3 separate regions of the Homo sapiens genome follow, and all the other regions are linked to region 1. Evidence: promoter capture Hi-C in 16 types of primary human blood cells and fetal thymus (Javierre and others, 2016). All regions are on one chromosome and are shown on one strand. The core of a region is centred on a gene start or on the middle of the fragment in contact, and the rest is flanking DNA. Distances in the headings are between cores, read along the strand shown.

Region 1 (3,063 bases), core at 31-2,530:
TATGATTTTACATTTACTATTGCAGTTCCAGTGCCATTATCAGATTGCATTTTCCTACTGAATTACAAACAAAAGTGTTATGCTACTAACAATTAACAAAATTTTAATAAGGTTGTGTTTGATGCTATTACTCAGATAATGTGTTCTAAATTGCTTTCCTTTGAATATATTTGCATTAAAGAGGAACTCAATTTGGTTCTTTGAAGAGTTTATCCACTTTCTGGGTAGCTTTAAAAAGACACAGGGAAATTCAGTTTCTTCTTTGCAAGTAAATAGAGAAGAAACAAATTTGCTAAGATCTGTAGAAGTCATGGCAGCAGACTGCTGATGGTTTGAGTTAATGAAATGACTCATTTTGGCTACTTGAGTTGCACAATTAAAATATACAGTAGAGACTGTATATCACATCATAGATGAGAGATAAATCCCCCAGTGTTCTCTTTTTTTTCCTCAAAGCTAATATATTATGAATTAAGAAATTTAAGAGCTCCACATTATTGCAATTCTTGATCAGTGATGCCCCAAATTAAGTAGTAATCTCTTGAGAGTGCACGTTTGTTTGCAGCATTCCTCTTACCCATTTCTGCTAAAATTGTGGTTGTGACGAAAGCAGTTGTTTTCCAAAAGATAAACCCATGTGACCAAGCTAAAACATTTACCTAATACTGACACGTTTTTTGTGGTCTTCTCATAGTTGTCTAGCTAAAGGAGTTTAATGCAGAGAATATAAATACGGAAATAGTGAAACTGAAGTCCTGCTTGCGCAGAAAGCCTGCAGCCGACTTTGGTTTTTAACAGACTCCACGGGGCATTAGAGAAAGTAACTGGGGGCAGTGGGATGGAGGGTATGAAATTGGGTGGAGGGACGAAAACTAAGAGCCCTCTGGGTCTTTTATGTCCTTCTACATTTTGTGTAGAAATAAATGTTTTTACTTTACTTCCACGGTCGGCCCTTCCTCTTCACCTTTTTTTTTTCTCACACGTTCATCCTCTGAATTCTTTCCGTTTACAAATGCTCCCGATTTAGAAACTCATAATACTGTCTGTAAAACTTGCCTGAGCCTGTGTGGTCTGAATTTAGCGACACACTTGTTTAGGAGTTTCGGTTCTCGCTCTCTGTTTGCATGGTTTGGTAACAACACTTCACTATACTAAAAATCATCGCCCGGACCTGCAGGGCTGCACGGAAAACGCTGTTCCTTTTGGTACCCGCCGCAGCCGCGCAGGCGCACCGCCCAGCCGCCCTGACGCAAGGCGCAGGCTTCATGACGCAGCACGCAGTCTCAGCCGACACTGCGCGCGCCTCCAGGCACCGGCGTTAGCGGGTCGCCGACCCGCAATCCCCGCCGCGGCTGCTTGCCTACCGGAGTGTGCGCCGGCACCTGCCGCCGGAGACATGTTGCAAAAACCGAGGAACCGGGGCCGCTCTGGCGGCCAGGCCGAGAGGGACAGAGACTGGAGCCATAGCGGAAACCCCGGGGCTTCGCGGGCCGGGGAAGACGCCCGGGTTCTCAGAGACGGCTTTGCCGAGGAGGCCCCGAGCACGTCCCGCGGGCCGGGCGGCTCGCAGGGGTCGCAGGGCCCCTCGCCTCAGGGCGCCCGCCGGGCCCAGGCCGCCCCCGCCGTGGGGCCCAGGAGCCAGAAGCAGCTGGAGCTGAAAGTGTCCGAGCTGGTGCAGTTCTTGCTGATTAAAGACCAGAAGAAGATTCCGATCAAGCGGGCCGACATACTGAAGCACGTCATCGGGGACTACAAGGACATCTTCCCCGACCTCTTCAAACGGGCCGCCGAGCGCCTCCAGTACGTCTTCGGGTATAAGCTGGTGGAACTTGAACCCAAGAGCAACACTTACATCCTCATCAACACCCTGGAGCCTGTGGAGGAGGATGCCGAGATGAGGGGTGACCAAGGCACGCCCACTACGGGCCTCCTGATGATCGTCTTAGGGCTCATCTTTATGAAGGGCAACACCATCAAGGAAACTGAAGCCTGGGACTTTCTGCGGCGCTTAGGGGTCTACCCCACCAAGAAGCATTTAATTTTCGGAGATCCAAAGAAACTCATTACTGAGGACTTTGTGCGACAGCGTTACCTGGAATACCGGCGGATACCCCACACCGACCCCGTCGACTACGAATTCCAGTGGGGCCCGCGAACCAACCTGGAAACCAGCAAGATGAAAGTTCTTAAGTTTGTGGCCAAGGTCCATAATCAAGACCCCAAGGACTGGCCAGCGCAGTACTGTGAGGCTTTGGCAGATGAGGAGAACAGGGCCAGACCTCAGCCTAGTGGCCCAGCTCCATCCTCTTGAAAGGTGGATTCAGAGGGACCCCCGGGACAAGGGTCTGAGACCCAAAGGCACAGTTTAGAGGATTGGGGGAAGGGAGAACGAACCCAGGGAGCATATTGCTGTAAACGCTTCAATGTGTGTAGCTTTAGGATGTGTTTGCAAAGTTTTGTTTTTTTAATGTTGTGTTATTTTGCTCCAGATTTTCATCTATAAACAAAGGAGCATTTGTTTTGATTTTACTCTTTTTGGTATAAAAAATTTTGCTAGCTTAGTAAAACGAATTGGAAAACTTGACTATGATCTGGAACAGATAATGCAAGAAGGAACACATAAGTAAGTTGCTTTGGTGCCAAGAAAATAAAAAAGCTATTATCAGGTCTCCTAACTACCCCAGTTTGTAAGGAAAAATAAAAGTTTTTATAAAATTAAAAAAAATAATTGCCTATATCCTTATTATGTTAACCTATTTTATTTTTCTATATTTCGTACATATATAAGTATTATTCATGGTTCCAAGCAATGAGTGTAATGTATTTTCTCCCAATAGTAATTGTTTATATTCATAATTATTCAGCTCTGCTGCTAAACACGTAGTTCCACTTCGTTTTTTTCTTCTTGCTACTGTAGTTATTACAATAAATACTGTATTTTTGAAGCACTTAAGCATTGTGTGTTTTTTAAATCGTGGGTCATGAGAGAATTTCATGACTGGAAATCAACATCTTAAAGTTTTTGCTACATATTAAGGTCAATGCTGTTTTGTAGAAGTTGTT
Region 2 (3,399 bases), core at 643-3,142, 300 kb before region 1:
CTCCTTATCATCTGATTCCTTTTTTTTGGTGGGGGTGGGGTTGGGGGGGCACTGTGTAGTCTCCATAACACTGAACCCAGTGTGCCGCCAGTCTTCCCACTAGACCGAAAGTTCTCTGAGTACAGGGGGCTTGCAACTCATTCTTCGATCTTCAGTGCCTGGCACATAGTGGGTGTATACTATTTTTTGAATAGTATACAATGTCAATAAACTGTAATTCACTAATTTGTTAGGCTATTGTGTGTTTCTCTCTGAATCCCTTAAAGGCAGGGATTTTTGTCTGTTTTGTTCACTGATGTACCCTAAGAACGTAAAAAAAAAAAAAGCCTTATGATTAGAGAGCTCTTTATGAACTTTTGTTGGAGGAATGAATGAACGGATGAATGAATGAATGAATGAATGGGGGAGATGATCAAATGCGAACATAACTTCCTGCCAGTCCAGGGTCATGCCTTGTATTGTTTCAAGCTCTTAAAAAGTGCTGCACTGCGAACTTCTAGGCAGAAAATGTCTCCAGGAAATTGGAATTTGTACTGGAGTGCTTTAAACAATGCCGGCCAGAGGCTTAGTCCTGTTAAAGATAAGAACTGGGGGAGAAGGCAGCGTTTGGCCACGGGCCAGCATTTTGAGATCAGTCACTCTATCTGTGGAATTCCCTACCCCCTGTTCATCCCTTGGCCATCTCGTTAAATTGGAAAATAAATCCCATCCCTGCTAAAGTGTTGGCTGATAAAGGCTTGAGCTATAGCCCCTTCAAGGGGAATTTGCATTTTAATAGAGGATCGTCAAGCCCCAAAGGAATCAATATCTCTAACGGTGAAATTTCAAGCACCAGCAACCGAGATATTTTGGGACTACACTCTCTAGCGTTTCTCATCCAACAGTAAGGTCTGCTAGAAAGACACGGAAGAATGGTCTCAGGAAATGACCGGCCGTTTCCCTTTATTACTCTGAACTTTGCCTTTTCACGTCTGGTCCCTTCAGACTCCCTAACGCTGGTGATCTCTTAATCTGTCAATGCAGCCCTTTTCAACACAAGCAGAGTCTTAAAGTTGGCTCATCAACAGGGCCACAAAGGAATTATGGCAATCAAAACTTGCAGGATTTCCCGGTATTCCAAGGGAGCCAGTACTTAGATATTTTAAACTCTATGTTGGCAAGAGGGAGTGGAGATGGTTTAATCGGTTATTAATGATATTGCGCATTTAAATTCGTTTTGTGCAATTTTTTTTTAAAGCCCAAACTTTTAACTTGTATCAAAAGCATGCAAACCAAAGGTGGGTAAGGGACATCGTGTGTGTCCTGGCAATGTTCTCGGAATGTCCTCCAGAGCTGAGTTCTCTCAGCGGATGGCTTGGGAGATTCTCGAACTGCAGAAAAGCAGCATCTTGGATCTTGGATTTTTGCATTCAAGAGGCTCCTGTTCGCCACACCTGCGGCCCAGCGCTCGGAATTTCCCTCCTGTCTGCTCCCAGCCCGTCTCCCCGTCCTCAGCGCCCCGCGCGCCCATCCCGAGCCGTCCCCAGGCTCTGAAGGCTCGGCTGGCCCGCTGCCGCTATCGGGCCCCTCCGCGCAGCCGACCCAGGGCTCCGCCGCGGAGGCTGATGCCGTTGCCCTTGATGCGCTGCCGCCCCCGCTCTCCTTCCGCAGACCTGCAGCCGCCAGGGCGCGAGGCGTGAGCGCGGAGGCTGGGACGCCAGGACCGCACCTGCGCCTTCCCCGCCCCTCTCCCGGCTCCCGGGTCCCGGCTCCCGCTCCCGCCCCAGCTGGGGCCCAGCGCACGGCGGCGGGGCTCGCGCCCGGGGACGGCAGCGGCTCGCGCCCGGTACGGCAGCAGCGGCGGCGGCTCGCGCCCGCGCTCGGGCCGGGGAGCGCGCGGGGCGGGCGGGGGAGGGCGCAGCGCGGCGCGGCCGGCGGGCGGGCGGCGCGGCGGCGGCGGCATGGGCGCGGGCACCGGCGGGGGCTGCGGGCGCCCGGCTCCCCGCCCGGCCCGGCCCGCTCCCGGCGCGCGGCCGCCGCAGCCCTGGCAGCCGGCTGGGAGGCCGTCCCTGCACCCGGCGCAACTTGCCTCGGACCCTCTGTGAGGAGAGGCGGCGGCGCGCGCCGGGCCGGGCGGGAGCGGGCGAGGCGTGCGGGCGCCCGGCGCGATGCCTCCGGCCGGCGGCCCCCGAGCGCCGCGTCCCGCCGCGCTGCCCCGCAGCCTGTCCCGCCTGCGCGAGTGCCCGGGCCGCTCCCGCATCGTGCTGGCGCTCGGGGCCACGCAGATGGCGCTCGGATGCCTCATCGTGGCAGTCAGCTTCGCCGCGCTGGCGCTCACCACCTCGGCCCGCGTCCGCCACTCCTGCCCCTTCTGGGCAGGCTTCTCGGTGAGTGTCCGCGACCAGGCGGGGACGGGCTCCGGGGACTGCGCGGGCCGGGGGGGCTAGGCGCTGCGGCCGCCGGGACGCCACCGCGGGCGGCAAGTTCCGGCGGCCAACGCCGGGGCCGAGTAGCTGCAGCGCGGGGCGCAGTTCGAAACTCCGAGCAGAATAACTCCAGGGCCCGGCTCGCCGCTCTCGGAGCATCGCGTTCCCGCTCCTATTGCGCTGATTCCCGGAGTTACTTTTCTTGGAGGAAACAGCAGCCAGGCGCCCGCCGTCCTCCGAGCCCGCAGCGGCCGGAGGGAGCGCCGGGGACCGCGCGCGCCGGGGACACGACCTCGCCATCCGAGCGGCCGCGGCCGAGGCGAGGAGGTGGGAGCCGAACCCGGAGCGGAGCAGCATGTGGGCGCGCCTCTCACCCTCGCGGCGGCCCTGACCGGGGGCGGTGGGGGTGGGGGGTGGGGTGGGGGGGCGGGGGAGGGGCGCCTCCCGTCGGGTTTTGGGTCAGCCCGGATATCGGGGATCGGCCGGGCGGCCCCTGTGGTCGCTCGCTGACTTGGCTTCGGGGACTTCTGGTTTCCCGCGTCCGCCCAGAACGGCGTGGTTTGTGGGCGACGGGACTGGGCAGGCGACCCGCATCCGGCGTCCTGGGGCAGGGGGCAGGCAAGGGGGGGCGGCGTGCTTTCTGAGCTCCAGACCTTAAGGATGACCGATTTTCAGACTCTTAACCACCAAATCAGAGAAGCCAGTGGTGAACAAATCTCCATAGAAGAAAGACGTCTCGATTAAAGTGACTGTCCCCAAGAGTTAATTTTTGGCGTTTTGTAGCATTTTGATGAAAGTCGGTTTTTTTCCTATATTAACAAAGAATGGACGTTATGGGAATGGGAGAGATATATATGCAGAGCAGATATTTATGAAGAGAGGCACTTGTTCTGAGAACTCTTGACATCTGTAACTGCATTTGGTGGATCGTGCTGAAATACATCGCATAGGCTTGTAAACTCAGTATGTTTTACTTCCATCTACAGAAATCCAA
Region 3 (3,163 bases), core at 651-3,150, 360 kb after region 1:
TGTAAATGTAGAAAAATCTGGACTATCAAGTATTAGCAGAACATGCAGGAGGGTGCTTATATATATTAGGGTAGAGAAACCCTTTCTCTAAGTAAGATACAAAACTCAGGGTAAATAAAGCAAGCTTGATAGATTTAACAATGTAAAACTTCCAAATTTTTGCATTGCCAAATATGTCTTTAAATAAAATCAAAGGACAAGTGGCATCTGAGAAAAAAATATCTGCAATATATATAGCAAATGAGGAATAACCCTATGTACCAAGAACACCTATAAATCAACAACAAAAAAAACCTTCACAAGTCAAGAGGAAAAGAGGCAAGGATGAAAAAGAGAATTAGAAGGAGAAATTCAAATTAGTATTAAGCACACAAGAAGCAGCTTGTTGTCATTCACAATTTTTACAAATACAAAATGAAATAAGCTATCACTTTATACCCACATGACTGAATGAAACCACAAAGACTGATCATGTCCAGAGAGTGTCGATGTCCAGAGAGTGTCAGTGGGGACACCGCTGCCCCACACACCAGCATCATTTAAAATGGTCACCACCTGTCCAGAGAGCAACTTGGCAATATCTGTTGACACTCTGAATGCCCAAACCATTCAGCCCAGCAAGTCCACTTCTAGGAACCTATGCTACGGAAACAACCCCATGCAGACACAAGAGTTTAATGTACGAGACTCCACATGTCAGCATTTTCCATAAGTGAGAAAAATGGTAACAACCCAAAAGTTCAATAAGTAAACGGTCACATATTGTGCAAGTGTCAGAGAGAATAATGCTGCTTCCAGCTTTATCCAAGTCCCTCCAAAGGACATGAACTCATTCTTTCTTATGGCTGCATAGTATTCCATGGTGTATATGTGCCACACTTTCTTTATCTAGTCTATCATACATTCTGCAGGTGTATTCCAGAACTTAAAGTAAATTTTTTTTAAAAAAGAATAATGCTGCTATGCACAACGGACAAGGGATCATGGCTAAGACACACGGCTGGGGGATCGAACTGCAAATCTTATTTACAATAGGATCTCATTTTGTTGAAAAATACTTTTAAAACATGTATTTGTGTAAAAGACAAGTAAAATATTTCCACAGACAGAAAAAAAAAATGGGAGGAGTCTCCACCAAATTGTGAATAATGATTATCCTTGTGGGCACTGAATGGGGCAGTGGTGAAACTTGGGGGGAAGCTTTCATTTTCTATTCTACATGATGCATTTCTGTAAAGTTCGAGCCCTTATAATTAGTACATTTTAATTTCATAATCAGAAAAAATATTTAAAGGATCTTAAAATCTAGCATGTTAGACGCCAGCCCCCATTGATGGAGCCAGGGTCCTTCTCAGCCCCAAATTCCACTGCCAGAAAAATGGCACCTTTCTCCTCCAGAGATACAAGATAATTGCTAGAAGACAGCATTTTTAAAACAGAGATATCAAGCCAGGTGCGGTGGCATGTACCTGTAGTCCCAGCTACTCAGGAGACTGAGGCGGGAGGATTGCCTGAGCCCAAGAGTTCAAGTCCAGCCTAGAGACAACATAGCAACACCTCCATCTCAAAATGCAAAACAAAAACTACAGATGGCAGATCTATTTAATGACTAGCTCTGGTGGGGAGTGCTGCCCCTCAGACCTTGACCTACCCAGGCAGCCTCTAGTTATTAAAGACTTCTCAGTATTGGAGAATGAAACAAAATAGACAAGCACTTTAAAATTCACCAGAAGTTCCCAAGGAATTTGCTTCCACGCATAGAAAATAGTCAAGTCCGTTCTTCCGAAAGCTTGCTTCAAAGTCCAATTGCGGGGAATTGATGTAGATGGTTCCATTTTAACTTCTTCAGCCAGAGGAAATCTAAAAATTCCTCCTTCCAGCTCAACAGAGCAAATCCACCTATTGCTTCTGCAAAAGGAGGACAAAGATCCTCCTGGGGCCGCAGAATTCAGCAGCTTTTCCTTGGATTCCTAGGGCAACCAACAGCTCCGGGACACCAGGCCAAGCTTCAAAAGGCAGCCTGCCAGCCATCAGACTCCCAGGCACCTGTGCAGTCCCAGGCGGTTGAGGAACTGGGGGAGGGCTTGGTTTCAACCTACTTGCCAGATCACCAGCAAAATAAGACATGTTCAAAAGAAACAACTGCACATAAGCCAGGGCTCTGGTCCCCAACCCATCAGGTCAGCGGCCCAGCCCCTCAGTGTGCTGGTGAGTGGGACAATCAGAAAAGGCCTCTCTCCCTGGAATAACTAACAGTCTCTCTCCAGCCCCACTCCCACTGCCTCGTGTGTCATGGGAAGTCTCTAAAATTCTCCACGGGCTTCCCCACACGTTCTTGATTTCCTCTCCAAACACCACCAGCCAGCCTAGGAAGCTGGGTCACAGGGAGTCTGCGTGCTGCAGACACTGAGGGGTGCTGCAACGCTGTTTGCTGGACACAGGGAGTCTGCGTGCTGCAGATAACGAGGGGAGCCACCAACACTGTTTGCTGGATGCTGCTCAATGGTGTACCATCAAATGGGTGGAAGGGAAGAGGGAAAAGGAAGGAAGAGGGGAGGGCAACCCCTCACTCTCACTGTCAGTGGGTAATAAAACCTTTCCAGATGTCAATCAAAAGCCTTAACATTTTGCCCAGCAATTCTACTCTTGTAAATTTATAGTAAGGGATCATGAATATCTGCCAATAAAAAACAAAAAACACAACTACAAGGATATTTATTACAGCATTCATTCATAGCAGAAAAACATTCTAAACAAATTTAATGTCCAACCCTGGGATCCAGCTCCAGAAAGGACAAACTCGTATGGCTGGGTGTGGAAGAAACCGTCCATGAGTGTGGAAAGTGCTCCTCATATACCGTCCAGGAGAAGGAATGCTGGGAGCCGGGGTGCCCAGGAACAGGGAGGAATCGTGGGCAAACAACAGGAGGGCCCCCGGCGGGTGGAGTCTGGTATCTCAAAGCTTCCTCCTTTCGCTTTCTGCTATCTCTGTTTTCCAATACAATGAATGAATTCATATGTGATAACTAAAAATAATGTTTTTTAAATAAAAGTGTTCTCTCTTGCCAAAAATCGCTGTAATGCTAAACTGCTGAGTTGAGGCATATGAAGTTGCCTATATTGGATCACTTTTTGACATACAGAAATAACAGTTTCATATGGT

The links. The method cuts DNA at HindIII sites, captures the fragments that hold promoters and counts their contacts. A CHiCAGO score of 5 or more calls a contact.
Region 2: the fragment with the promoter of ENTREP2 here is called in contact with the fragment with the promoter of NSMCE3 in region 1 in 1 of 17 cell types (endothelial precursors); the score reaches 8.6 in endothelial precursors.
Region 3: a contact is called between a fragment that was not itself captured here and the fragment with the promoter of NSMCE3 in region 1, in 1 of 17 cell types (total CD8 T cells). The highest score is 6.0, in total CD8 T cells.

Annotation. Positions count from the first base shown.
Region 1 is chr15:29,268,039-29,271,101 of GRCh38, reverse strand. NSMCE3 (NSE3 component of SMC5/6 complex) reads left to right here and starts at 1,280. Exons shown (of 1, transcript NM_138704.4): 1 at 1,280-3,063. The coding sequence starts at 1,397. The coding sequence ends at 2,311. All of the region lies in intron 2 of ENTREP2 (endosomal transmembrane epsin interactor 2), which reads left to right. RefSeq lists enhancers at 984-1,483, 1,484-1,985. The HindIII fragment of the contact is 8,019 bases long and covers 1-3,063 here.
Region 2 is chr15:29,569,472-29,572,870 of GRCh38, reverse strand. It overlaps ENTREP2 (endosomal transmembrane epsin interactor 2), which reads left to right and starts at 1,892. Exons shown (of 11, transcript NM_015307.2): 1 at 1,892-2,366. The coding sequence starts at 2,148. The HindIII fragment of the contact is 6,565 bases long and covers 1-3,399 here.
Region 3 is chr15:28,903,975-28,907,137 of GRCh38, reverse strand. The region is part of intron 1 of APBA2 (amyloid beta precursor protein binding family A member 2); the gene reads right to left. Among named protein-coding and RNA genes, the nearest start is that of APBA2, 20 kb to the right of the region's middle. RefSeq lists an enhancer at 2,924-3,163. The HindIII fragment of the contact is 217 bases long and covers 1,792-2,008 here.